2 separate regions of the Homo sapiens genome follow, and region 2 is linked to region 1. Evidence: promoter capture Hi-C in 16 types of primary human blood cells and fetal thymus (Javierre and others, 2016). All regions are on one chromosome and are shown on one strand. Each heading gives the region's core, a stretch centred on a gene start or on the middle of the fragment in contact. The rest is flanking DNA. Distances are from core to core; before and after follow the strand shown.

The links. Contacts are between HindIII fragments. The CHiCAGO score rates a contact against its expected background, and 5 or more counts as called.
Region 2: a fragment that was not itself captured here is called in contact with the fragment with the promoter of RPS4Y1 in region 1 in 1 of 17 cell types (naive CD4 T cells); the score reaches 5.1 in naive CD4 T cells.

The regions. Positions count from the first base shown.
Region 1 is chrY:2,837,466-2,843,859 of GRCh38, reverse strand. It overlaps RPS4Y1 (ribosomal protein S4 Y-linked 1), which reads right to left and starts at 2,258. Exons shown (of 7, transcript NM_001008.4): 1 at 2,233-2,258; 2 at 1,618-1,695. The coding sequence starts at 2,235. The HindIII fragment of the contact is 6,443 bases long and covers 1-5,604 here.
Region 2 is chrY:2,950,769-2,956,967 of GRCh38, reverse strand. It overlaps ZFY (zinc finger protein Y-linked), which reads right to left. Exons shown (of 8, transcript NM_003411.4): 2 at 2,971-3,059. The coding sequence starts at 3,031. Among named protein-coding and RNA genes, the nearest start is that of ZFY, 18 kb to the right of the region's middle. The HindIII fragment of the contact is 6,095 bases long and covers 1-5,521 here.

The DNA of each region.
Region 1 (6,394 bases), core at 1,009-3,508:
CCTTCCCCAAATCTAGCCTCACAACCATCTCCCCATTTTGCCCTGCCCCAAGCACCACTGCCACTCATACTCCTTCTTCAAACCTCCCTTGAACACAACACTACATCCCATGTATCTCAAGTGTAGCTTACGCTTTACCCAAAACCTTATGAAGACATATTCTACTACTCTCTCACCATGCCAGGCTTCAAAGTTCCACACAAGCCCTGCCGATGTTGCAGGACCACCCTGTAATACCCAATGTGCGTTCCTCCTCTCTTGGCTGCTTGCCGGCTTAAGTGTCATCAAATTCACACCGCAACAAATCCTGTAACCTATACTCTCGCAGTTTTGGTGTTATACTGTCCTTAGGATATCTGCTACCAGTACATATAAAAGTCTCAAGGTCTGTCTTGAACACCACTCCCCAATTACCTTTTAAGTTTGGATCACACAAGAATCTCTTCCAATGGAGACCGTTCAAGCTGCTTCTACAGATCCCTCTCTAGCTTTGTCTCTCTTAAAACGGACTCGCGATCATTAACCACACACTTTCATCAATGTCACAGGGAAAAGGAGAGGAACCCACAAGACTAAGGGACCAAGTTCCCAGCAAGTCTTCTTAAAGAGTGCCTTGCTCATCCACTTAACAATAGAGAAAACAATGGCCCATCCAGGGAGGTCAAATAGTAGGTGACAGTAGCAGAGGTAGCACTTGGAAGCAGAAACTGACAGGGACAGGTTGCAAATCCAGGTCCCCAGCCAACACACTGCCTATGTTCTCTCTGAAAATATCAGAACAAGGAAGACAAGTTTCTACTACTCAGTGTTCAGAGTTCAAACTGTACCAAGAAGAGGCCAAATCAAGTTAGTTACTAAGTGCCTCCTAAATGGAGACCCTCAGAGCTAAATATAGTCTCTTACCACATTTATTCCTGCTCAAAAAACCCTTGGCATCTTAAGCGCCTCGATTCTGTCTTCTTCACACTGGCTCCTCTCTGTCTCAGAAGACCAAGACTTTACAGTTTTAACCACTCTCTCCTAGTGTGACCACACCATCAATGTGGAAATTGCCTAGTCTCCTTGTGAGATGCTTGCCTACTGTGCCTCTGAGTATACTGCCCTCATCCTGCCAGGTCTTCAAGGTTGGGTTCAAGAGCCTCCAGACTTTCTCACACAACTTCTTGCCCTTGTTTCGTGGGCTCCTGTAGCCTTTACTATTAAACCAGTAACTCGGGCTCAACGTAAAAAGCAGCTACTCCACCCTCTAAAACAAGGGGTAACTTTAAATTAAACGCATTTGATTATTAATGGGGGACTCAGCGGACTGTCACTGAACTCCTTTCTTATGTGGAATTGGACACATTCATTAACCCACCCAGCTCTGGGCTCAGGAAGTGCCCTCTGAAGTGGCGAGCTAAAAGAGCAAAGGAAACCATCGGGACGTGACATCCTGGCCCTTTGTTGCACAGAAAAGTGCAAGGACAAGTTCAGGGTGCGGGAAGTCTTTACCAACGAAAATCCCACATAACAAACAAGCAAACGCCGCCCCCAAGAAATACCGAGCCACAGGTATTTAGCATGCACTCTTGACTAAAAAAAACAAAAAAAAACCACAAAAAACAAAGTTATACTCACAAATACACCCGTTAGTTTGTCAAGCATCCAATGCTTCGGCGCTGCAACACGCTTTAAGTGCTTCTTGGGGCCCCGGGCCTGAAAAGGACACGAAACTCAGAGAAATTAGTTTCCGCTGACAGTGAAATGCCCTCATCTTCAGCTGTAGGAACTGCTAACGGGTAATACCTGACTCAAGGAGAAAAGATCGCCCAGCCCATACTCAAGCCCCGTTTTGAACAAATATTACTTCCTGCCAGACCCCAGAAGAGACCACGCAAAGCACAGACCTTTGAAAACTTGGCGGGTCTCCCTAGCATCCGTCAAGAGAGCGTCCACAGTGCTCTCCAAGCGAATCTGAGGCTGCTTCAACGTGTGAAAATAAGCTAATCCGGGTAAAAAGCCACTGCCGGGCTGCGTCAAGGATGGACTCACGTGACGGCCCCCAGACCGAGCACAACGAGACACACTCTTCTCAGACCTCCCCTCTCCAAATCGGGTTTCCTGAAGCAGCACCAGCAGCATTCCCACCCACCAAGTAGGGGCGACCGAAAAGTGAAACATCGCCAAGGTAGAACGGCCCTTTTTCAAATGATGGAGGCAGATATACTAGGAGTTAGGAACTATCGGTCTTACCATGGCGAAACTCTGCGACGGAAGAGAATCTGTTCTTTTCCGGTGCAACCAAAGTCTGTTGTCGTAAACCGCAGGAAGTCAGATGAGTGAGAAGTTTAGTTCCGGTTTCTTATTCTTCCGCTGTAGAGTTCATATCCTGGAACTGAATTTCTTAGCATTTTCAGTTTCTGATACTGATTTACAGGTGTCAGTTATGCCGCAGGACTTTTTGTTGTGCCTACCCCCCGTCAAGTTGGCTGAGCTGGGAGGACGCAGTTTACACTCTTAAACTTATCTTTCGCCGACCTTCAAAATATTTAGCAAAAGTCCTGAAACAGCACGATTTAGGAGCCTTAAAAAAAAATGCCAATCGTGAGAAATAACCTATATGATTCCTTGTGACTGTGACATGCTGTGATTGCAAAATCATGATTTGTTTCAGAGACAAATCATTCCTTGTTCAGGATTGGGGCCAATTTCATAGGTTTGGGAAAGTACTAAAATCGTCTGTACCGTAAACATTGAAAGGATAGGTTTCATGGCATTTGAATTTTAAGTCGAATACCTTGCTTTGGATTAGCTCGTGATGATGGCTGCACAGCTCTGTCCATGTCGTAAAACCTGCAAAACAATTCACTTTTAAGAGAGTGAAGTCCGCTATGTAAGTTGTACTGCGCAGGCGTGTGTGTGGTCACAGCTTCCATTGGAATTTTTCACGCGCGTCCGCCTGACAGAATTGATATACAAAAAACAACCAGCCAGGCCGGGCACGGTGGCTCACTTCTGTAATCCCAGCTCTTTGGGAGGCCGAGGTGGGCGGATCACGAGGTCAGGAGATCGAGACCATCCTGGCTAACACGGTGAAACCTCGTCTCTACTAAAAATAAAAATACAAAAAATTAGCCGGGCGTGGTGGCGGGCGCCTGTAGTCCCAGCTACTCGGGAGGCTGAGGCAGGAGAATGGCGTGAACCCGGGAGGCGGAGCTTGCAGTGAGCCGAGATCGCGCCACTGCACTCCAGCCTGGGTGACAGAGCAAGACTCCGTCTCAAAATAAACTAAATTAAATTAAATTAAAACAAAAAAACAACCAGTCAAATGAAGCTGCACTTCCTTAATGTGTACAATTTGATGAGTATGGACATAGGCGTAAATCCACGATACCACCATCACAATCGAGGTAATGAACATCTCCATCACCTCCAAAAGTTTCCTTGTGTTCCTTTCTGGTTATTCTCTCTCTCTCTCTCTCTCTCTCTCTCTCTCTCTCTCTCTCTCTCGGCCAGTGCACAGGTTGGTTTCATACATTTTAGGAAGGCAAGATGTAAGATGTACATGGTGCAGGACATTGGGGTGGCTTGGTGGGGGGCTGGGGCAGTGGGAAGGTAGAGTTTGATGTCGTAAGAGACAAATGGTTGCATTATTTTGGGTCTCTGATCAGCCTTTCACTAAATACACAATTTAACTGTAACAGGAAAGGTAGAGGCCGGGTGTGGCAGCTCACACCTGTAATCCCAGCACTTTTGGAAGCTGAGGCAGATGGATCACCTGAGGTTGGGAGTTCAAGACCAGCCTGACCAACATGGAGAAACCCTGTTTCTACTAAAAATGCAAAAATTATCTGGGCGTGTTGGCACATGCCTGTAATCCCAGCTACTCAGGAGGCTGAGGCAGGAGAATCGCTTTGGAAACTCTGTCAAAAAAAAAAAAAAAAAACAGGAAGGGTAGAGGAATAGTCAATTACTTTCATAGTCTGGCTCAGTGAGTCTGTATTTTTACATAAACAGTGTAGCAGAGGAAACAATGAGATAGGCATTTGTTGCAGATGTGCACATGGAGGACTTTCTGTCTTGCACCTGTGAAGATGAGCTACCAATGTAGGTCGCCAGGGTGAAATTAAACAGAACTGCTTTGGAGTAAAGATCTTGAGGTGCATGGCTGGGCGTAGAACCTCTGCGCTTTCCAATTTGAGACCCTTGGTGGGCAGTGCCTAAACACAGAGGCAACTGCAGGTTTCTGGCTGTGGGCAGTGAATCTAGGAGTTTCCGTGTGGAGGCACCAAATCACCACTGCTCAGTTTGTTTAAGGTATCTGGGTCTTTTATAATTTTTTTTTTCTTTTCTTTTTTGGTCTTTCAGTGGCTGTTTCCCTGTAGTTCCTTGGAAATTGAGGGCAATTAGCTAGGATCACTCTCTTGTGTTACCTGAATGCCAAGGAGTGAATAGGAATAATTGTCCTGTCCAGAAGGGGGAAGGACCTTTTTTTTTTTTTTAATCTGTTCCAGGTGTGGTCCCTGATTCCTATGTGTGATGCAGCTCAGAGTAGACTTGCAAATGTTGCAGGAGATGTAAACCTTCTTTTCTTATTCTCCCGTTATCCTACTCAACTGGCTAAGAACAAAAAACGAACCCAGCTTCCAGTTCCTATCATTAACGTTCATGGAATGGGAAGCATGGGAAATCATGGCCTTATCAAATTATAAGGATGCCAGCAGTCAAGCCTTTCCTGCAGTGACAAAAATGAAAGCTCATAGTAGAGGCGGGCAGATCACGAGCTCAGGAGATCAAGACGATCCTGGCTAACACGGTGAAACGCTGTCTCTACTGAAAATACAAAAAAGTAGCCAGGCATGGTGGCACGTGCCTGTAGTCCCAGCTACTCGGGAGGCTGAGGCAGGAGAATCGCTTGAATGTGTGAGGCAGAGGTTGCAGTGAGCCGAGATCGCGACACTGCACTCCAGCCTGGGTAGCAGAGCCAGACTCTGTCTCAAAAAAAAGACCTTGAGGTCCACAATGAATTTCTCTTTTGGGGCAATTGTGAGGAATCTATGTAGCTTTTTTTTTTTTTTTTCCTGAGACAGAGTCTTTCTCTGTCACCCAGGCTGGAGTGCAGTGGCACGATCTCAGCTCACTGCAAGCTCGCCTCCCAGGTTCACGCCATTCTCCTGCCTCCGCCTCCCAAGTTGCTGTTACTACAGGCGCCCACCACCATGCCTGGCTAATATATATATATATATTTTTTTGTATTTTTAGTAGAGACGGGGTTTCACCACGTTAGCCAGGATGGTCTTGATCACCTGACCTCGTGATGCACCCGTCTCAGCCTCCGAAAGTGCTGGGATTACAGGCATGAGCCACCGCTCCCGGCCCTATGTAGCTTTTTTTTTTAGCTTTGTCTTATTCTCATCTCAGGTTTGCCTGCCACAGTTCCCAGCTTGACTTTTCTCTTTGGCCTCGTAGTGATTTGGGGGTTCCAACATTTATTTTTCCTTTCACACTCTCTTAGTTGAGTAGTGCCATATGCATAATTTCAAAATAATCAAGGTGTAAGAAAATGTAACAAACTACTTGGCAATATACACTCCTACCTTAAATCAGGGATTGGGTGATAAAGCTTCCTTCCAAACAGTAAGCAAATTGATGTGTTTACTGAGCACTTATTCTGTGCCAGGCATGCGTTTTCACTTTTCACATGGCCTAAGTGTGTTGAAAGAGCCTTAGCCAAACAGGCTAAGGGATGTGGTAATGTGGCAGGCCAGGTCTCACTAACACAGGCCTCTATAACAACTGTTTCAGCACTGACTGATGGGTTAAGTTAAATATTAAAAGCTGAAAAAGCCAGTGTCCTTATACAAAGGCTGGAATGCAACAAAAGTCCACCAAGAGTTTTCCCCAGGCCTTTCCTGAACCTTAAAAGCATGATTAAACAAGTTTTACTGGGGATCTGAAGAAACTCTTCAGGCCTTCACAAAAAAGTTTCTTAGGGGGTCTGAAGGAACTTCTCAAACCTTTATGATTTAGCAGGTGACAAGTATAATCATCCCAGCACCTGCACCCACTGAGATTAAGCAAATTTACGGAGACTCCAGAGGAAAGTCTTCAGGACTCAGACCTTGCTTGTAGATTAAAAGAAGTATTCACATATGTCTTTAGATGAATGCACACTTACATGTAGATATAGAGCTTAGAAGCTATAGAAGCTCTGGAAAACTTTGTAATTTTGAGTCGGCCTGGCAATAATTTCCAGGCCTTCTCCCTGTAACCGCTTGTAGAAATAAAAACTCTTCCTCCCTCCCTCTGGAGGGAAAACATGCAACTGGCACTTGTACACTCCTAAGGTCAGAGACATCTGACTCTAAGATTGGGGGATGCACAGGTAGGGGAATTCTTCAGACCTCACCCTCTC
Region 2 (6,199 bases), core at 1,225-3,724, 110 kb before region 1:
TTAGCAAAACTGTCTCCCTGGGTTATGTGGAAAGCACAACTTGAAGACAAACCACTTAGCAAAATTGTCTCCCTTGGTTATGTGGAAAAAACAACTTGTAAAAATCAACTCTTTAGCTCAGAAGATTTCAGCAAAGTGTTGGACAAGTGGTCTTGTTTCTACTTAATGCTTAGAGTAAAATTCAGTGAGAAAAATGAATAGTTGGAATATTTATTAAACAAAAAGATAGCAAAACATGACAAAATCAGAAGTTTTCTGTCCATCTTGGGGGCGGGGGGGGGGTGGGGGTGAAAGGGGAGGTTAAATTAAGGAGATTCCTTGTCAGAGCAAAGCCTCATCTGTATTTACAGCCACTTCCCATCACCGGCATCACTGCCTGAGCTCTCGCCTCCTGTCAGGTCAGAAGCAACATTACATTCTCATAGGAATGCAAACCGTACTGTAAACTGCACACGTGAGGGATCTAGGTTGCATGTTCCTTATAAGAATCTAATGCCTGATGATCTGTCTCCTACCCCCAGATGGGATGGCATAGTTTCAGGAAAACAAGCTCAGGGCTCCCACTGATTCTAAATTATGGTGAACTGTATAATTGTTTCATTATATATTACACATAATAATAATACAAATGAAGTGCACAATAAATGTAATGCACTTCATTCATCTAGTAACTATCCCCCGAACCCCACTACTCCCAGGTCTCTGGAAAAATTGTCTTCCATGAAACCAGTCCCTGGTACTCAAAAAGGTGGGGAACGCTGATTTAGAGAGAGAGAAAAAAACAGTATGTGATTCTCAACTATTCCATGAACCCTCAGAAAAAACAAAAGATTCCTTCAGGCACCCGATCATTAAACAAGAAAAGTAAAAGTTAAGGAAAAAGGAAAGAAAGGGAAAAGCCAAGGTGAAAGAAAAAGAAAGAGGAAAGAAAAAGAAAAGGCAAGGGGTAAGGAAAGGTAAGGTAAGGTAAAGTAAAGTAAGGTAAGGTAAGGTAAAAAGAAAAAGGAAAGGAAGTGGAGGGAAAGGAAAGGGAAAGATCAAAAGGCCAGAGAATTAAGTCTTTTTCAAGCAAGTAAAAGTGTGACTTACACATACCCAACACCTCTAAGAAATCTAAGGATATTGGACTTCAACCATTTTAGCAGAAGTCAAAAACAGACATGGGATAATCTCAGAAAAAAAATATATTAGCCTCTTGCCTAATACAATAAATCCCCATGACACACGCAAAATTTTTTTCAAAAGAAGCACTGCTAGCTTAAACGGAAAGGGACACAGAATCAATATAATGAAGACAGTTGGACTGACAGAATTCCAGAGGCAGGAAGCAGGAAATAAAACTATTCAGCTGCAAATACCTGCTATCTTTGAAAAAAATGGCAAGGAAGACTCAAAGGGCGGAGCCACAGGCCAAAAAGGATTATTCCCAGGTCTTGAAACCTAATGGGAGTTTGTCCAGCTGCATTTCAAAATTTCTTCAGACAAATTTCTCTTACCTTTCATGTCACCCTGTTTGAACCAGAATATCCCAAACTGTCCTACCACTGTACTTTGGGAAGCAGATAAAGAGGAATTATGTCCCAGGAGTTGCACTTAATGACTGATACCCAGAGAATAAGCATCTGATTTAAATGATACTTAGGACTTCTGAGCTGATTAATTTCAGGTAAGATTTTTTTTTTTTGGACTGGGAACTTTAAGAGAGGGTGGATGTTATTTTACATTTGCCAGAGACATATTTGAGAACCGGGGTGAAGATGGTGGCAGGGAGAATGGTCCTTTCACAAAGATGTCCATAAACTAATCCTTATAAATCTTGAAAATATGTTACTTGATATGGCAAAAGAAATTTTTCAGGTATAATTAAGATTATGAACTTAAAATTGGGCAATTATCTTGGATTACCCTGGTGCATCAAATCTAATCATGTGAGCTCTTAAACTGAATAGTTTTCTGGCTAGATTCAAGAAGACGGATGTGATAGAGGGGAAGATCAGAAAGACTAAAAACATAAGATGGACTCCACTCACTGCTGCTTCAGGAAACCACCATGCAAAGCATGAGAAGAAATGTGGGCAGGCTCTGAAAGCAAAAAATGGCCCTGGATGATGAACTGTAGGGAACAACAGTATCTCCATTGTGCAACAAAAAGAAACTAAATTTGGCTAAAAGTATGGATATTCTTCGAAGTCAAGAGCCTCCAGCCCTGCAGATAGCTTATTTTATTTATTTATTTATTTATTTATTTATTTATTTATTTATTTATTTTTTGAGACACTGTCTTGTTCTGTTACCCAGGCTGGGGTACAGCTGTGCCATTATAGCTCACCACAGCCTTTAACTTCTGGTAAAACAATCCTCCTACCTCAGCCTCCAGAGCAGCTAGAACTAGAGATATGCACCACCATGCTCAGCTAATTAAAAAAAAATTTTTTTTTCTGTAGACACAGGTTTCCATTGGGTTGTCCACCACCCACGATGGTCTCCAATTCCTGATCTCAAGCAATCCTCACAATTGAGCCTTCCAAAGCAATGAGATTACAGATGTGAGCCACCACACCTGGCCAACATCTTAATTTTAACCTTGTATAATTCTACACGCAGAACTCAATTGAGCCACATTTCTGACCTATAGAACTCTGAGATAAATTTGTCCTGTTTTAGATTAGTAAATTTGCTGAAATGTACCAATAGAAAAATAGAAAACTAGCACAAACAGAAAACATTTCAAAGGGAGAACTAGCAGGCTTTAGTTGCATAACTGGAAAAACTGGAATAACTGAAGGGTAACAGTAAGATTTTGATATTGATGGCTTAACTAACAAGATTATGAGTTGGCTATGAGATTCTGACAGGACCTAAGTATGGACCTAAGTACCTAAATATGGATTAACATCAGATTCTGCAATTTTGGTAAGTAATTCAAAATCTGGCAGATGGGAAGTGAAACAACCCAATAAATAGTAATACCTATTCCATCAAAAAATGAGTTTGGCTCTTGTGGCTGCAATTCAAATTCATCTTCATCCATGGCCTTTAATTCTCATTAGTCACAGCTCCTAAACCAGGGAATAAAGTATACCAAACATTAATTTTTATATCACATATTAAAATGTCATGATATTCACATTTCTGAAATGCTCAAATTATTTTTTACTAAGCTATCAATGTAAAATTAAAGGGAACAAATTGATTTCCAGGGATACATGGGCTGCAACAAGACAGGAAAGGGCAGGTAGATCAAATCAGATTGACAGTGTTTCTGTTTTTTTGTTTTTTAAAGATTTTGGGTCTTGCTATGTTCCTCACACTAGCTTAGTATTCCAGGGCTCAAGTAATTCTTCCTCCCTCAGCCTACTGAGTGGGTGGGACTACAGGCCGCCATATCTGGCTTGTTTAGATTTTTTAAAAAGTTCAATTATCATCTTATATAAAATTCACAATGCTTAAGTATTTAGCATAACAAATTTTTACCTAAGTGTTAACTGGAATTTGCATTATTTATGTTAAGTACGTAAGTGTTAACTGGTACTTGCATTATTTATATTAAGATAACAGAACATTTCTTACACACCAGATGACTCCCTCTTGCCTTCTATCAGTAACCCCCATGATTTTTTTTTTTTTTTTTGTAAACAGGGCCTCTGGCTCTGTCATACAGGCTAAACTGTAAGTGGCACAGTTCACTGCAGCCTCAACTTCTCAGGCTCAAGCAATGCTCACCCCTCAGCCCAACTACTTGGGACTACAAGTATGTGTCACCAAACCTGGCTAATTTTTAAAGTATCTTTTTGTATAGACAAGGTCTAACTATGTTGCCCAGGCTGGTGTCAAAGTCCTGAGCTTGAGCAATCCTCCCACCTCAGCCTCACAAAGTACTGGGATTACAGGAATGTTATTGTGTCTGGCACCCATGATTAACTCTCAACTTTAACACATTCTGTAGGTTTTTGCTGCAAGACTGTATTACATCTCTATATTTAACATAGTCTCCAGTCTTTCTACAGTAAATTAACAAAATGGTAAAAAACTCAAAATTCCTAATAATTATAAGCACTCCTCAGATTTCTGTGTAGCTTAAAAGCCCTCCCCATTCTCTCCCCTCAGAGACAGGGTCTCACCCTGTCACCCAGACTGGAGTGCAGTGGCATGATCATGGCTCACTGCAGCCTCCAACTCCTAGGCTCAAGTAATCCTCTTACTTCAGCCTCCCAAGCAGCTAGGACTAATGACACATGCCACTATGTCCAGCTCCCTTACTGTATTTTTAGCACATGCTATGGTCACTTATGTGTGTCAATTTTCAAATATTAAACTATATGATAAGGCAATATGCAAGTGAGAAACCAATGGATTTCCAAAGTGTTTCTCTGAAACAGATCTACTCAATTTAAAGAAAGTGTGTTTTATGACATTCAAACTGCTTCAAATAAAAAGGCCATGATGACTACACTAATATTTTGTCAACCACAGAAAAAGAAAAAGGGCACCTGCTCTAAATAAGCTGTCACTGCTCCCTCTACCCAAACAATCTCTGGCTTCATTAATTTTTCCCCTCTTAAAAAAATGTAATTATAAAATTATAAATGCAAACTAATCTTCTCTGCATAATTAAAGAAAACCACATGAAATTAAGGCAATGAATGATGGAATAAATGTGATTTGTTGGATTATTGAAGTGACCTTCCAATTTTCCTAAAAACAGCAATTTCATTAGTTCTAATAAAAGATCAACTTGTGGGCCAGGCATGGTGGCTCACGCCTGTAATCCCAGGACTTTAGGAAGCTGAGGCAGGTGGATCACAAGGTCAGGAGATCAAGACCACCTGGTGTCTTGACAGTACAGACAGTGAAACCCTGTCTCTACTAAAAATACAAAAAATTAGCCGGGCACTGTGACGGGCATCTGTAGTCCCAGCTACTCGGAAGGCTGAGGCAGGAGAATGGTGTGAACCCGGGAGACGGAGCTCGCAGTGGGCCGAGATCGTGCCACTGCACTCCAGCCTGGGCGACAGAGCGAGACTCCATCTCAAAAAAAAAAAAAAAAAGATCAACTTGTAGCGTAATTTTCCTGTTTCAGGTATTCATCTTCCTTACCTGTCTGTTAGAGTCTGATAGATGATCAGTTTCTTTAATTTTGAAACTCCCTCCTACCTCTTTGTTTATATGATATCTTAGTTCTCTTCTCACCTTCTTAACCGATGGCTACTATAGTCTTGTCCAAGGTTTCACATTCAGCTTTCCTCTCTACTACTTTCTCATTTATTTCCACAGTTTTTAATGACGACTTACGTGAAGATGATCCCCAAAATCCACACGCTGAGAAGGACCTAAAATTTCCATCAGACCGTTTACTGAACATCTTCAAAAATTAAAACCCAGATTTTTCCTGGCACAATCACTATGGCCTTTTCCTCCTTCCCTGACAGTTGGTTTCTCAGATCTTGTCAATTTCTTCTCCACAATTTCTCTGTTATGTTTGCCCTGCTTGTATTCCCATTATCACCAATCACTCTAAGCTTCCTATTTTCTGATCCCTAGAAATGAAAATAGTTTCTGAAATGGCCTTTGTAACACTTCCAAAACAAATGACTAGGAAACCTATTATAAGAAGGGGGTCTTGTAATGCCAACTAACAAGGCATTCCTACAATCTGTAGCCAGATGAATCTTCTTGAAGCACTGCTTTGATCACTCCCTTACCAAGAAGCAGTCTCCAATATTCAGTGACCTCCACATTATTAACCCAAGCTACCACATGACTTATTTACTGTTATTACTCAACTTTGCAACCTAGCTGGACAGCATGTCATTCTTCAAACGATCTTTATGTTTTTACCCTGGCACTCAACATCCTAGAATTTTCTAGGAGGTGAGGTCTTGAAAAAGTGGAGCTATACCTAGTCAACTGTCATTAGCAGGGTCAATAACTGCTAATATTTACAAATATTTATAAATGCAGGAAAATGTCACTATCAGTGACCTAGGGACATAGTGCTAGTGTCTCATGTATGTAACCAAACATCTGTGCCACAGATAGCTAAATTCTGGTTTAATCATTCTGAAACAGGCAATAAAGAGAAAAGAGCTCAAACAAGTGAGAAACCAACCACGAACTGCTACATTCTAGGACTCTATTCAGCACAACACCTACAAACTCAAAATCTTGAATGAAAGAGGGTTAAGTATAATTTTACGTC